3 separate regions of the Homo sapiens genome follow, and regions 2 and 3 are each linked to region 1. Evidence: promoter capture Hi-C in human tissues and cell types (Jung and others, 2019). All regions are on one chromosome and are shown on one strand. Each heading gives the region's core, a stretch centred on a gene start or on the middle of the fragment in contact. The rest is flanking DNA. Distances are from core to core; before and after follow the strand shown.

Region 1 (4,245 bases), core at 766-3,265:
GGCATGATCATGGCTCACTGCAGCCTTGACCTCCCAGGCTTAAGCAATCCTCCCATCTCAGACTCCTGGAGTAGCTGAGACAAGATAAAAATCAGTTTAGTCCTCAGATGTACCATAACTTCCTTAATCATCCCTTTATTGATAGACATTTAGGGTGTTTACAATTATTTTGCTGCAAACTGCTGCAGCAGGCAACTTCATTTTCTTTTTTCTTTTTTTTGAGACAGTTTCGCTTTTGTTGCCCAGACTCCAGGCTGGAGTGCAACGGCGTGATCTCAGCTCACTGCAGCCTCCGCCTCCCAGGTTCAAACGATTCTCCTGCCTCAGCCTCCCGAGTAGCTGGGATTACAGGTATGCACCACCACGCCAGGCTAATTTTTTTTTTTTTTGTATTTAGTAGAGATGGGGTTTCACCATGTTGGTCAGGCTGCTCTCAAACTCCTGACCTCAGGTGATCCACCTGCCTCAGCCTTCCAAAGTGCTGGGATTACAGGCTTGAGACACTGCGCCCGGCCTCATTTTCTTCTTTTGAACAATTTCCTCCTGATTAGGGGTGGGGTTACCGATCAGACATTTTGAACATCTTTCTGACTCTTGACAATTTTGCATGTCACAAGATCTGTTGTCCTTGGCCCTAGCCTCTGCAAAGCCAGACCCTAAGGGCTGGCCCCTCTGACATCTCCCTTCCTCCAGCTTTGCGGTCACCCTTTTCACCTGGGGCCTCTGCCTCAGCCTCCTGCCTCTCCTCTCCACAGCCCACTCCTTCTCCTGCCCACAGGCCTGCGGGCTTCCCCTCCCCAGGCAAGCTGGGGCCGTGTCGCAGCGCTTGGCCATCACGACTTTGCCATTGCCAATGCAATCTGGCTCACTGGCATGCACTGTGCTTACCTTAGCCTCAGGGTGTCCTGCATAGGTCCCCAGGAAGATAAACCCTGGGTGATGTGTCATTTTCCCCTTTCCGTTCCTTCCCACGCCCTTCCCCCCACCTCCCCGCGTAGGCAGCGCATCTAGTTGGCACTCCATAAATATCCAAAGTATTTACAAAATAACGTAGAAGTTCTATGCTGTTTAGTTAGATCTCTTAAGGTTGATAATGTACAAGGCAATTTGCATCAGGAGCAGACGAGATAGGGCCCGGCAGATATAAATTAAAAATGCAATTGCACGCATTCATTCAACGAGAACTCACTGAGCAACTACTATGTGCCAACATTATCCACTGCAGTGAATAAAAGACAAACAAACAAGCAAATAACAAAAAAAAAAACAAAAGAGCAAGAAAGTGGCCGGGTGCAGTGGCTCACCGCTGTAATCCCAGCACTTTGGAAGGTCGAGAAAGGAGGATCGCTTGAGGCCACGAGTTCAAGACCAGACTGGGCAACATCATAGTGAGACCTCGTCTCTACAAAAATTAAAAAATTAGTCGGGGGTGGTGCGCCCAGCTCTACTCGGGAGGCTGAGGTGGGAGGATCGCTTGAGCCCAGGAACTGTAGGCTGCAGTGAGCCAGGATCGCACAACTGCACCACAGCCTGGGCAGCAGAACGAGAAATAAATAAACAAATAAAAGCCAGAAAGTAAAAATAAAGTGTTAGATGGCGATTCGAGCTGAGGAGGAAATCAGGCAGGGGAAAGAATCTGAAAGCGAGGAGTGAGTGGCTGGCAAGGCTCCTTCGGAAGGTGGCAATAACAGTCATAGACCGGTCACATCAATTGGGTGTTTACTGCGGGCCAGTGTGTGCCACCAACCTCACACCCGAAAGCCACAAAGACTCACGCCACAACGCAACGAGGCAGGGGCTCCTCCTCCTCCCTTGGTATACGGAAAGAAGCGTAGGGAGCAGAGTTGGGATGCTAGTCAGTACCCCCCTGCACCTAGCCCTTGCCCCTCCGTCTGGCTTTCCCCACTCCCGCTCCGGCGGAGCTAAGGTTAACATTAGACGAGGCTGTGGCTACCGGAAAGAGCGCAGGCGCAGAGCGCGGAATGCGCCTGCGCAGAGCGCTGGGCGACGTGGCCAGTCGGGGCCCGGAAGTGGTCCCTGTAGAACCACTGTGGCACCGCTACTCCGTGCCGCGCCCGTCGAGCATTGCGTTGCTGCATTGCGCCCCACCGACTCCACTATGTTGAAGAAATTCGACAAGAAGGATGAGGAGTCAGGTGAGGGGGCCAGGCCTGGGTCTGAGGGAGGCCGGACCCCCACCCGCCGAGCTTTCCTTCTGGTTCTCTGTCCTGACCCGGAGGCTGAGGCCCAGTGAGGGGCAGGGGCTTGTGCCAGGGTCCACAGCTAGTCAGTGGCAGGCCTCGGAGAGCCCGAGCATGCGCGGCTGTCTCACTCTTGTAAGCTCGGACTGCAATTTTCTGGGTGACCTTGGGCGCGACAAACACCCCCCCCCCCAGGCCTCAATTTACCCATCTGTCAAAGGAGGGGACCATGCCGAATGTTCTCTTGTTACTTTCTTCGTCCAACCTCTTGGGATTCGCTGGGGCTACGTTGGTGCTGGCCAAACTGGGGTGTAACCTGCGGAGCCAGCGTCCTGTGACTGGGAACTCTGACCCCATCATTCATTTATTCAGCAAAGTATATTGAGCAGTTACTGTATGCCAGGTACTGTACGGTGTCCTGGATACTGCAACAGAGCAAGTGGGACACTCAGTGCCTGAGCTAGGAATATTAGAATGGTTGCACCCACGATGGAGGAGGCAGACATCAACCAGATAATCACACGTGTAATTATTTGCAAATGTGTCATCTGCTATGAAGGAACTAGTTACAACGAGATGGTGGTCCCTGGCACATAGGGACTTAGTTAATTACAAGTTATATAAATGAACACAAGACATGGCACCATGAGAAGCACAGGACTGTACCAGGGCTGCTGGGAGATTGTGAGTGGTTTGGGGTAGAGTGGAGCCCACCTGCTTGCAGGAGACTAGTAGGATCCCTAGACAGATTGTAGAGGCTTGATTGCCATTCCTGAGGAGTTTGAACTTTACTAGATTTCCTAGGAAGGGACATCTTCCCTTTACCTATGTCTGGGAGAGTTTTGAAGTTCAGAGTCACAACCTACCTTCTCCATTGTCCTTGACCGTAGGTGGAGGCTCCAACCCATTCCAGCACCTTGAGAAGAGTGCGGTACTCCAGGAGGCAAGTGACATTTGCTCCCCTCTAGCTTCCATCATAAATATTCACCACCAATGCAACTGAAATACCAACACATTCAAAGTGTTGTTTTAAAGAGCAACACGGGAGAAAACTTGTGCCTGGAAGTTTTCTGGAAGACAGGAAAACTTTGTTTCTGGAGAGAGTTAGTTATGCTTACTTCTTTTTTTTTTTTTTTTTTTTTTTTTTTCTGAGACAGAGTCTTGCTCTGTCGCTCAGGCTGGAGTGCAGTGGCGTGATCTCGGCTCACTGCAAGCTCCGCCTTCCAGGTTCACGCCATTCTCCTGCCTCAGCCTCCCAAGTAGCTGGGACTACAGACGCCCGCCACCACACCCGGCTAATTTTTTGTATTTTTAGTAGAGACGGGGTTTCACCGCGTTAGCCAGGACGGTCTTGATCTCCTGACCTCGTGATCCACCCGCCTCGGCCTCCCAAAGTGCTGGGATTACAGGCTTGAGCCACCGCGCCTGGCCTCTCTATTTAAACATTTAAAAAATTTCTCTATTTAAAGTTAATTCCAAAGCTAAGGAAACTGGTTTAAAACTATCACCTAAGCTAGACTGTGGCCATTATGCAGGTAGAGATTTTGCATGACTTGTTTATTTTTATTATATATATTTTTTATATATATATATATATGTATTTTTTTTTAGAAGGCGTCTCACTCTGTTGCTCAGGCTGGAGTGCAGTGGCACGATCTCGGCTCAACTGCAACCTCTGCCTCCTGGGTTCAAGCAATTTTTCTGTCTCAGCCTCCCAAGTAGCCGGGACTACAGGCGCACGCCACTATGCCTGGCTGATTTTTATATTTTTAGTAGAGATGAGGTTTCACGATGTTGGCCAGGCAGGAGAATGGTGTGAATCCTGACCTCTTGATCCTCCCGCCTCGGCCTCCCAAAGTGCTGGGATTATAAGCGTGAGCCACCGCGCCCGGCCACTTCTCTTTTTTTTTTTGAGATGGAGACTTGCTGGTGTCAGCCTGGGGTGGAGTGCAATGGCATGATCTTGGCTTGCTGCAACCTCCGCCTCCTGGGTTCCAGCAATTCTCCTGCCTCGGCCTCCCGAGTAGCTGAGATTACAGGTGCC
Region 2 (4,245 bases), core at 582-3,081, 170 kb before region 1:
CCAGGCTGGTCTCGGACTCCTGAGCTCAAGTGATCCACCCACCTTGGCTTCCCAAAGTGCTGTGATTACAAGCGTGAGCCACCATGCCTGGCCTACTTAGTCATTTTTAATTTTATTGTATTCATTCATTTTATTTTTATTAATTCATCTTTTATTGAGGAACATTTAAGTTTGGGTGTGAAATTGCAATGATAAACAGCTATTCAGCTTATTTCACTTACTGGCATTTTCCAATCAATAGTAGAATTCCAATCACTACTTCAATCAAATCCTTCATGAAGATCATTTCTATGTCACTCCTTTTCTGGGATATCTAGGTTGTTTCCAAGTCCCCCCTGCCCCCACAAATGGCATTATGTCTTAGTTTGTTTGTGTCTCTATAAAGGAATACCTGAGACTGGGTAATTTATAAAGAAAAGAGGTTTATTTGGCTCACAGTTCTGCAGGCTGTTCAGGAAGCCTGGCGCCAGCATCTGCTCCTAGTGAGACCTCAGGGAAGCTTTCACTCATGTTGGAGGTGAAGGGGAGCTGGTGGGTCACACGGTGAGAGAGGGAGCAGGAAAGAGGGGAGGGAGTTGCCAGGCAGCTCTTTTTGAAAATCAGGTCTCTTGGGAACTAACATAGTGAGCATTCACTCATTATCTCATTAGTGTGAGGACTGCACCAAGCCATGAGGGGTGCGCTCCCATGACCCACCTTCCACCAGGCCTCACCTTCAACATTGGGGATCACATTTTAACATGAGATTTGGAGGGGTCAAATAGCAAACCAGGCCAGGTGCAGTGGCTCACGCCTGTAATCCCAACACTTTGGGAGGCCGAGGTGGGCGGATCACCTGAGGTCAGAAGTTTGAGACCAGCCTAGCCTGGCCAACATGGTGAAACTCTCTATCTCTCCTAAAAATACAAAAATTAGCCAGGCATGGTGGTGGGCACCTGTAATCCCAGCTACTTGGGAGGTTGAGGCAGGAGAATCGCTTGAACTTGGGAGGCAGAGGTTGCAGTGAGCTAAGATCACACCATTCATTGCACTCCAGCCTGGATGACAAGACTGAAATTCCGTCAGAAAAAAAAAAAAAAGGAAACCATAGCACATTGTATTTGAATTCTTTGTACATAAAAATTTTTCCACATCTAGATGTGTTTTCTTGGGACAGAATCCCCAAAGTTGATTTGGGAAAAAGTAAAGTTTGGCCAAGTGCAGTGGCTCACACCTGTAATCCCAACACTTTGGGATGCCAAGGTGGGTGGATTGCTTGAGGCCAGGAGTTGGAAACCAGCCCGGCCAACATGGCATAACCCTGTCTCTACTAAAAATACAAAAACCAGCTGGGCGTGGTGGCACACACCTGAAATCCCAGCTACTCGAGAGGCTGAGGCACGAGGCGGAGGGAGGTTGCAGTGAATCAAGATTGCACCATTGCACTCCAGCCTGAATGACAGAGTGAGACCCTGTCTCAAAATAAATAAATAAATAAATAAATAAAATAAAGTAAGTTCATTTGGAGAGTCAAAGTTCAGATGCATTTTCTTTGTTTTTTGTTTGTTTGTTTTTCTGAGACAGAGTTTTGCTCTGTTGCCCAGGCTGGAGTGCAGTGGAGCAATCTCAGTTCACTGCAACCTCTGCCTCCCAAGTTCAAGCGATTCTCTTGCCTCAGCCTCCTCAGTAGCTGGGACTACAGGTATGCGCCACCACACCCAGCTAATTTTTGTATTTTTGGTAGAGATGGGGTTTCACCATGTTGGCCACGCTGGTCTCGAACTCCTGGGCTCAAGTGATCCACCCATGTTTGCCTCCCAAGGTGCTGGGATTACAGGCATGACCCAACATGCTCGGCCCCAGATGCATTTTCTTTTCTTTTTTTTTTTGAGATGGAGTCTTGCTCTGTTGCCCACGCTGAAGTGCAGTGAGTGATCTCAGCTCATTGCAACTTCCGCCTCCCGGGTTCAAGTGATTCTCCTGCCTCAGCCTCCCGAGTAGCTGGGATTACAGGCACTTGCCACCATGCCCGACTGATTTTTGTACTTTTGGTAGAGACAGGGTTTCACCAGGTTGGCCAGGCTGGTCTCGAACTCCTGACGTCGGGTGATCCACCTGCTTTGGTCTCCCAAAGTGCTGGATTACAGGTGTGAGCCACCTCACCTGGCCCCCAGATGCATTTTCAATAGCAAGAATTTTCCCTCTTCCTTCTCATTCCTCTCCCCACCCCACTTAAAATAAAGTTGGCCCTAAAGTGCTGGATGAAGAAAGGAAAAAAGTCAGCAGGGCAGAAATCATCATTACAAATACTCTGGAGTGCAAAGAATTGACCCTGTGTCTGAATGTCCCCTGGAAAATAAACATTGGCATCCGTGTATTAGTCAGCGTTCTCCAGAGAAATGACCAATAGGAAGCGTGTACAGAGAGAGTTGAAGGAATTCGTTCACATGATGATGAAGGTTGGCAAGTCGAAAACCTGCGTGCTGGACCAGCAGTCTGGAGAGCCAGGGACACAGAATCACAGGTCAAGTCCAAAGGCTGTTGCTGCAGATCCCCTCTTGCTCAGGGGAGGTCAGTCTTTTTGTTCTTTTCAGGCCTTCAACTGACTGGATGAGGCCCACCCGATTACAGAGGGCAATCTGCTTTTCTCAAAGTCCACTGTTGAAATGCTAATCTCATCCAAAACACCCTCACAGAAACACCCAGAATAATATTTGACCACATATCTCAATACTAGGGCCCAGCAAAGTTGGCACACAAAATAACCATCACAGTCTGTAATGTTTGTTTGCTTAATCATATACTTGGCATGGCCGGGTGCAGTGGCTCTCTCATGTAATCCCAGCTCTTTGGGAGGCTTGAGGGTCAGGAGTTCGAGACCAGCCTGGCCAAGAGGGTGAAACTCCATCTCTACTAAAAATACAAAAATTAGCTTGGTGTGGTGGTGCACGCCTGTGGTCCCAGCTACTTGGGAGGCTGAGACAGGAGAATCGTTTGAACCCAGGAGGCAGAGCTTGCTGTGAGCTGAGATCGCGCCACTGCACTCCAGCCTTGGTGAAAGAGCAAGACTTTGTCTAAAAAAAAAAAAAAAAAACATCATATACTTGGCAGTACTAATTACAGTGGAAACACCTCTTTGGTTTCCTTTTTTTTTTTTTTTTTTGAGACAAGTTCCTACTCTGTTGCCCAGGCTGGAGTGCAGTGCCACAATCATGGCTCACTGCAGCCTCTACCTCTCCTACTCAAGCAATCCTCCCACCTCAGCCTCCCGAGTAGCTGGAACCAGAGGCACGTGCCACCATGCCCAGCTAATTTTTTTTTTTTTTGGTAGAGATGGGATCTCACAGTGTTGCCCTGACTGGTCTTGAACTCCTGGGCTCAAGCAACCCTCCTTCCTCAGCCTCCCCAAGTGCTGGGATTACAGGCATGAGCCACCGCACTCAGCCATATATATAATTTCTAATCTTCAGAAAACCCTGCAAGATAGGAAGAATTATCCTCAATTTTTCAAATGAGAAAACTTATGGTCAGAGGAAGAAAGGCTCCAAAGGCAACACAGCTGCATTTGAGGGAGATGGAACTGAAAGGCATCTTTAGTTAACCCAAAGCACCAGGCCTTTTCCAGCCACCCCTTCAAGCTGGGCAGGGATCACTCAATGTGGCAAGGATTGCTTGCTTGGCCTCTGAATTGTACTCCCCTTCTTCCACAGGAATGGAATTTTAGCCAGGCACAGGGCCGTGCAGAATAGAGACATTTCCCAGATGCCCTCAGTGAGCTGCGCCCACGTGACCAAGTCCTAGCCAAGGCGATGCAGGCAGGTGCTTCGGGCCATGCCCTTAAGGAAAGGGGTGACTGGTCCTCCCTTTCCCCTTCCCGTGGGGTGGGAAGCAAAGACTGGAGCCAGGCAGCACCTCAGGGCGTCAGTGCAACCGCACAGATATCCTATCCTATTCTGTTTTTGTTCAGACTTTTATAGGGATATAGATAGAATTTTATGCTGCTATTTGGGGTCTTTGTATCCCTGCTAATTAGAAAACAACTTTGAGGCCTAGTGCAGTGACTCATGCCTGTAATCCCAGCACTTTGAGAGGCCAAGGCCGGTGGATCACTTGAGGTCAGGAGTTCAAGACCAGCCTGGGCAACAACACAAAACCTCATCTCTACAAAAAAATCCAAAAATTAGCTGGGCATGGTGGTGCACACTTGTAGTCCCACCTACTCAGGAGGCTGAGGCAGGAGAATCGCTTGAACCCGGGAGGCGAAGG
Region 3 (4,245 bases), core at 525-3,024, 180 kb after region 1:
TTTTGAGATGGTGTCTTGCTCTGTCACCCAGGCTGGAGTGCAATGGCATGATCTTGGCTCACTGCAAGCTCCACCTCCCTGGTTCATGCCATTCTCCTGCCTCAGCCTCCTGAGTAGCTGTGACTACAGGCGCCTGCCACCATGCCCGGCTAATTTTTTGTATTTTTAGTAGAGACGGGGTTTCATTGTGTTAGCCAGGATGGTCTTGATCTCCTGACCTCGTGATCCACCCACCTCAGCCTCCTAAAGTGCTGGGATTACAGGCGTGAGCCACCCCACCAGGCCTGGCTAACTTTAAAAAACAATTTTGTAGAGATGGGATCTCACTATGTTGCCCAGGCTATTCTCAAACTCCTGGGCTCAAGCAATCCTCCTGCCTCAGCTTCCCATAGTGCTGGGATTACAGGCGTGAGATACTGTGCCCAGCTACTGACAAGGATCTTAAACTCAACCAACCAAGACTGGATTTGTCTTTGTGCCCCTTCCCCCACTAACTGGGTCCTCTGAGTACGTTCTCTTATCTCTGTGGAAGACATCTCCATCTACCAGGTCCCCCAGCTGCCAACTTGAGAACCATCTTTATTTGCCTCTTCTGTGTTTCCTGACCAACCAGCCCCCAAGTCCCGTAGTTCCCTCTAGCCTGGGCCTTCTCCCTCACCTCCCAGCATCTTTAGCTTGGGCATTTGACCAGAGCCCTGACCTGTGTGCCTGGGAAAGGTGGCCAGCCTCTCCAGCTCTCCCTGTTTCTCCACTGGGCATTAATGTGTTCAGTGCTGGAGAAGCGGCATGGAGAAGACCTTCAGTCTTCAAGCTTTATAGCCCCCAGCTCTCATCTCCCCACACCAACATTCTGAGTCTGCCAACTCAGTCTCAGGTCTTTTCTGACTGCTCCCAATCCAGTCCTGCCACTCCCAGTGGCCTCTCCATCTCCTGGCTTGCAGTATCTTTTATGATCTTGTCCCTTCTGACCTCTCTCACCTCATTTCCAGAGACACCAGACCTCTTGGGTCATGCTGTTTCCTTGCCCGAAATGCTTTTCCTTCCCCTTTTGGCTTGGAGAACTCCTTTTTATCCTTTAAGCTCCAGTGTAAAGATCTTTTCCAAAAGCTTGGAACTGTTCCTCCCCATCCCATACCCTCAGCACACCTTTTACTCCTGGGTGTCATCCCTGGGCCCGGCATTTACCCCTTCTTATTCTGTAATTATCCATTTATCTCTGTCCTTTACCCGTGAAGCTGCATTGCTTTGCCAAGAACTTGGTCCCCAGCACATTACTGCCAAAACCTTGAAGACTGACGTCTTCTCCATGCCTCTCCTCCAGTACTGAATACATTAATGTCCTGCAGAGAAACAGGGCGAGCTGGAGGGCTCCCGTCACATGGGTCGGGCCTCTGGTTCCTCCAACTAGGCTCAGATAGAAATCTCAGAAATGTACATGACCTGCCCCCGACTCCATGGCAACCCTTCACCCAGAGGGGGTCGGCACAATATCTGTGGCTGAGTTTTTGCCCTCACCCCACTTTCACGCGTCCTTAGGGCGCTGAGCGCTCCCTGCAGACGCTTCTTCCCGGGGCTTACCGAGCAGCGACAAGAACAGACTGTGGTACGCTTCATAGTCGTCGTCCATGGTCGTGGTGCTGGGAGGGGGTGCTGAAGGGCGTGTGTGAATGTGTGTCGATGTGGGCTTGCTTGCGTAGGGGTACCGGGGTATCAGATAAACCGTAACTCCAAGTCGTGCGAAAGGCGCTCAGCTCAGACTGCAGAAGCAACCTGTTGCCGTGGCTACGGACGCCCCGCGCCAATTGGCTGAGCGCTGTCACGTGTTAAGAGCGAGCCCGCCCTGCCGAGCGCCTGCTGGCCCCACCTCGTTTTCGTCCAATTCTGGGAGGGGCAGCGAGCAAATCCACGCCCCGCCCAGTTCTGGGCTTGGTGAAAGGCGGGATTTCTTTGTTCGGCCCAGTAGTCCCTGAATCCAGTGTAGAAAGTCTCCGGTTTTCCCGTGAAATGTGGGATCTTCCGCAGGTCTCCATATCTCTAGGCCTCAGTTTTCTCATAGGAAAAATAGGCCCTGCCTCCTCCAGAGGGTTAGGAAGAACCAAAGTGAGCTGTGGCCAGATAGAGGTGTTGGGTATGTTCTGCCCCGCTTATGGCAGGGTGCCATGGTTTGGAGTTACAGAACCTGAGGACCAGAGAATAATAATAAACCCTTGAAATGTGCATCAACTGATAAGCAAAATGAGGTATATCCATAGGATGGCCATAAGAAGGAATGAAGTACATGCTACAATATGGATAAACCTTCAAAACAGTATGCTAAGCAAGAAGCTAGACACAAAAGGCCACGTGCTGTATGATTCCATTTATGTGAAATGTTCAGCATAGACGAACCCACAGACACGGAAAGTAGATGAATGGTTGCTAGGGGATGGGGTGAGTAATTGAAGTGACTGCTAACAGGTGGAGAGATTCTTTTTGGAGTGGAAAAAAGAAATGGAAACTTCTGGAATTAGTGATGATGGCTGCACACTGTAAATGTACTAAACCACTGAACTGTACACTTTAAAATGGTTAAATGGTGGCTTTTAGCTCAATTTTTAAAAAGTTAAAGAGAAACACCTAAGCCCTTATTCCTTTGCTGAGACAAGCTATCTTTGTGACGCTTGCAAACAGATTGTTGCCATGGGCCACATTCACACAGCACTCTTGCAAGCCAGGTACCATTTTAGCACTACATGTCTGAACTTCATAATTACCATCATTGTGTGAGGTAGACACCACTATCCCATTTTTAAAAGACAAGTTAACAGGTACAGAGGTCAGGCAACCTCACCTGCAAGAAACAGGAAAAGCCAGGCCTAGAGCCTGAGCAACCTGGCTGTGTCCTGAGCTCCCCTGGTGCAGAGCTCGCCTCCTGCATTCACACGGGCCCACACTCCCCATGGAGATGCTGGGGGAAGGTATGTGACCACCAGCCCTACCACAAAGCCACACCTGATGCCCTGAGCTTGGTGAGCTCGCCCCACCCTCCAGGCCCAGCTGGGCCCAAGGTTTCAGAGGCCCCTCTCCACCCTCTTTGGGTGTCTTGTCCCTACTCCTTACCGCTTTTGTTCCCTTCCATTATTAGGTGCCCTTCTTTCTCTCTGTGAGGGTCTGTACAGAACTTGTTTATCTTTGTGCCCCTCCCCACCACAGGGCTTTACACTTTGTGAATGCTACTTGGATGTTTGTTAAATGAAAATGTGATGGTAAACTATAAAGTGGGTTTGCCTTGGGGAGAGGGAGGTGTGGCCAGTTTTCCTGTTCTCTGGTCAAAATCTATCCTTCTAAAAACTGACACTCACTAAAGTGGAAACAACCAACTACCTCTGCATCACACTGCAGCCTGATTCGGTTCACACTGCCCTACAACAAAGGCAGTTTCCTGAACAACTGATTTATTTTTCATTTATTCAATCAATTTAATTTTCAAATTATACCTTAAAATGGTAGTTGGTAATTAAGACATAGTAACTAGTTTTTTCCCTTGGTTTCTTTCTAATAGTAAATGCTTTGGTATTTGAACTGTAACAATACTTGTAATAAAAATGGCATTAAGACTTATTTTTTTTAAGACAGGGTCTTGCTGTGTCATCCAGGCTGAAGTGCAGTGGTGTGATCATAGCTCACTGCAGCCTCAATCTCCTGGGCTCAAGGGATTCTCCCACCTCAGCCTTCTGAGTAGCTGGGACCACAAGTGTATGTCACCATGCCCAATTAATTTTTAAAATTTTTTGTAGAGACGGGGTCTCATTATGTTGCCCAGTCTGGTTTTGAACTCCTGGGCTCAAGCAATCCTCCTGCCTCAGCCTCCCAAAGTGCTAGGATTACAGGTGTAAGCCACTGTGCCTGGCCAAATGGTATAAACTCCAAATGGAAGATGAGAAATGAGTTTTCACAAAGGGACCAAGGTAAAAGAGTGAGTGAGCTGAAATGGAGCAGCAGGCCCATATTCACATTAGGTTATCAAATGGATACTGGGGTGGAATCTACAATTCCTAAGAGCTAGTGTGGAGCTGTCAACAATACACAATGCCAGAGGAATCTTATTTGTCTTTGGGGTCAGCTTTTATTTTTATTTTTTAAATATATATTTTTTGAGACAGGGTCTCTCTCTGTCATCCAGACTGGAGTGCAGTGGCATGATCATGGCTCACTGAAGCCTTGACCTCCTGGGCCCTCATGAGCTCAAATGATCCTCCTGCCTCA

Evidence for each region. The method cuts DNA at HindIII sites, captures the fragments that hold promoters and counts their contacts. A contact is called where the count stands out against the background at its distance.
Region 2: a contact is called between a fragment that was not itself captured here and the fragment with the promoter of COPG1 in region 1, in 1 of the 25 tissues and cell types used here (lymphoblastoid cells).
Region 3: a contact is called between the fragment with the promoter of EFCAB12 here and the fragment with the promoter of COPG1 in region 1, in 1 of the 25 tissues and cell types used here (spleen).

The regions. Positions count from the first base shown.
Region 1 is chr3:129,247,591-129,251,835 of GRCh38, forward strand. COPG1 (coat protein complex I subunit gamma 1) reads left to right here and starts at 2,016. Exons shown (of 24, transcript NM_016128.4): 1 at 2,016-2,156; 2 at 3,092-3,144. The coding sequence starts at 2,120. The HindIII fragment of the contact is 12,995 bases long and covers 1-4,245 here.
Region 2 is chr3:129,074,965-129,079,209 of GRCh38, forward strand. No RefSeq gene overlaps it. Among named protein-coding and RNA genes, the nearest start is that of GP9, 16 kb to the left of the region's middle. The HindIII fragment of the contact is 5,728 bases long and covers 1-4,245 here.
Region 3 is chr3:129,426,862-129,431,106 of GRCh38, forward strand. It overlaps EFCAB12 (EF-hand calcium binding domain 12), which reads right to left and starts at 1,775. Exons shown (of 9, transcript NM_207307.3): 1 at 1,579-1,775. The coding sequence starts at 1,627. It overlaps MBD4 (methyl-CpG binding domain 4, DNA glycosylase), which reads right to left. Exons shown (of 8, transcript NM_001276270.2): 8 at 4,086-4,245. RefSeq lists a silencer at 1,912-1,961. The HindIII fragment of the contact is 10,320 bases long and covers 1-4,245 here.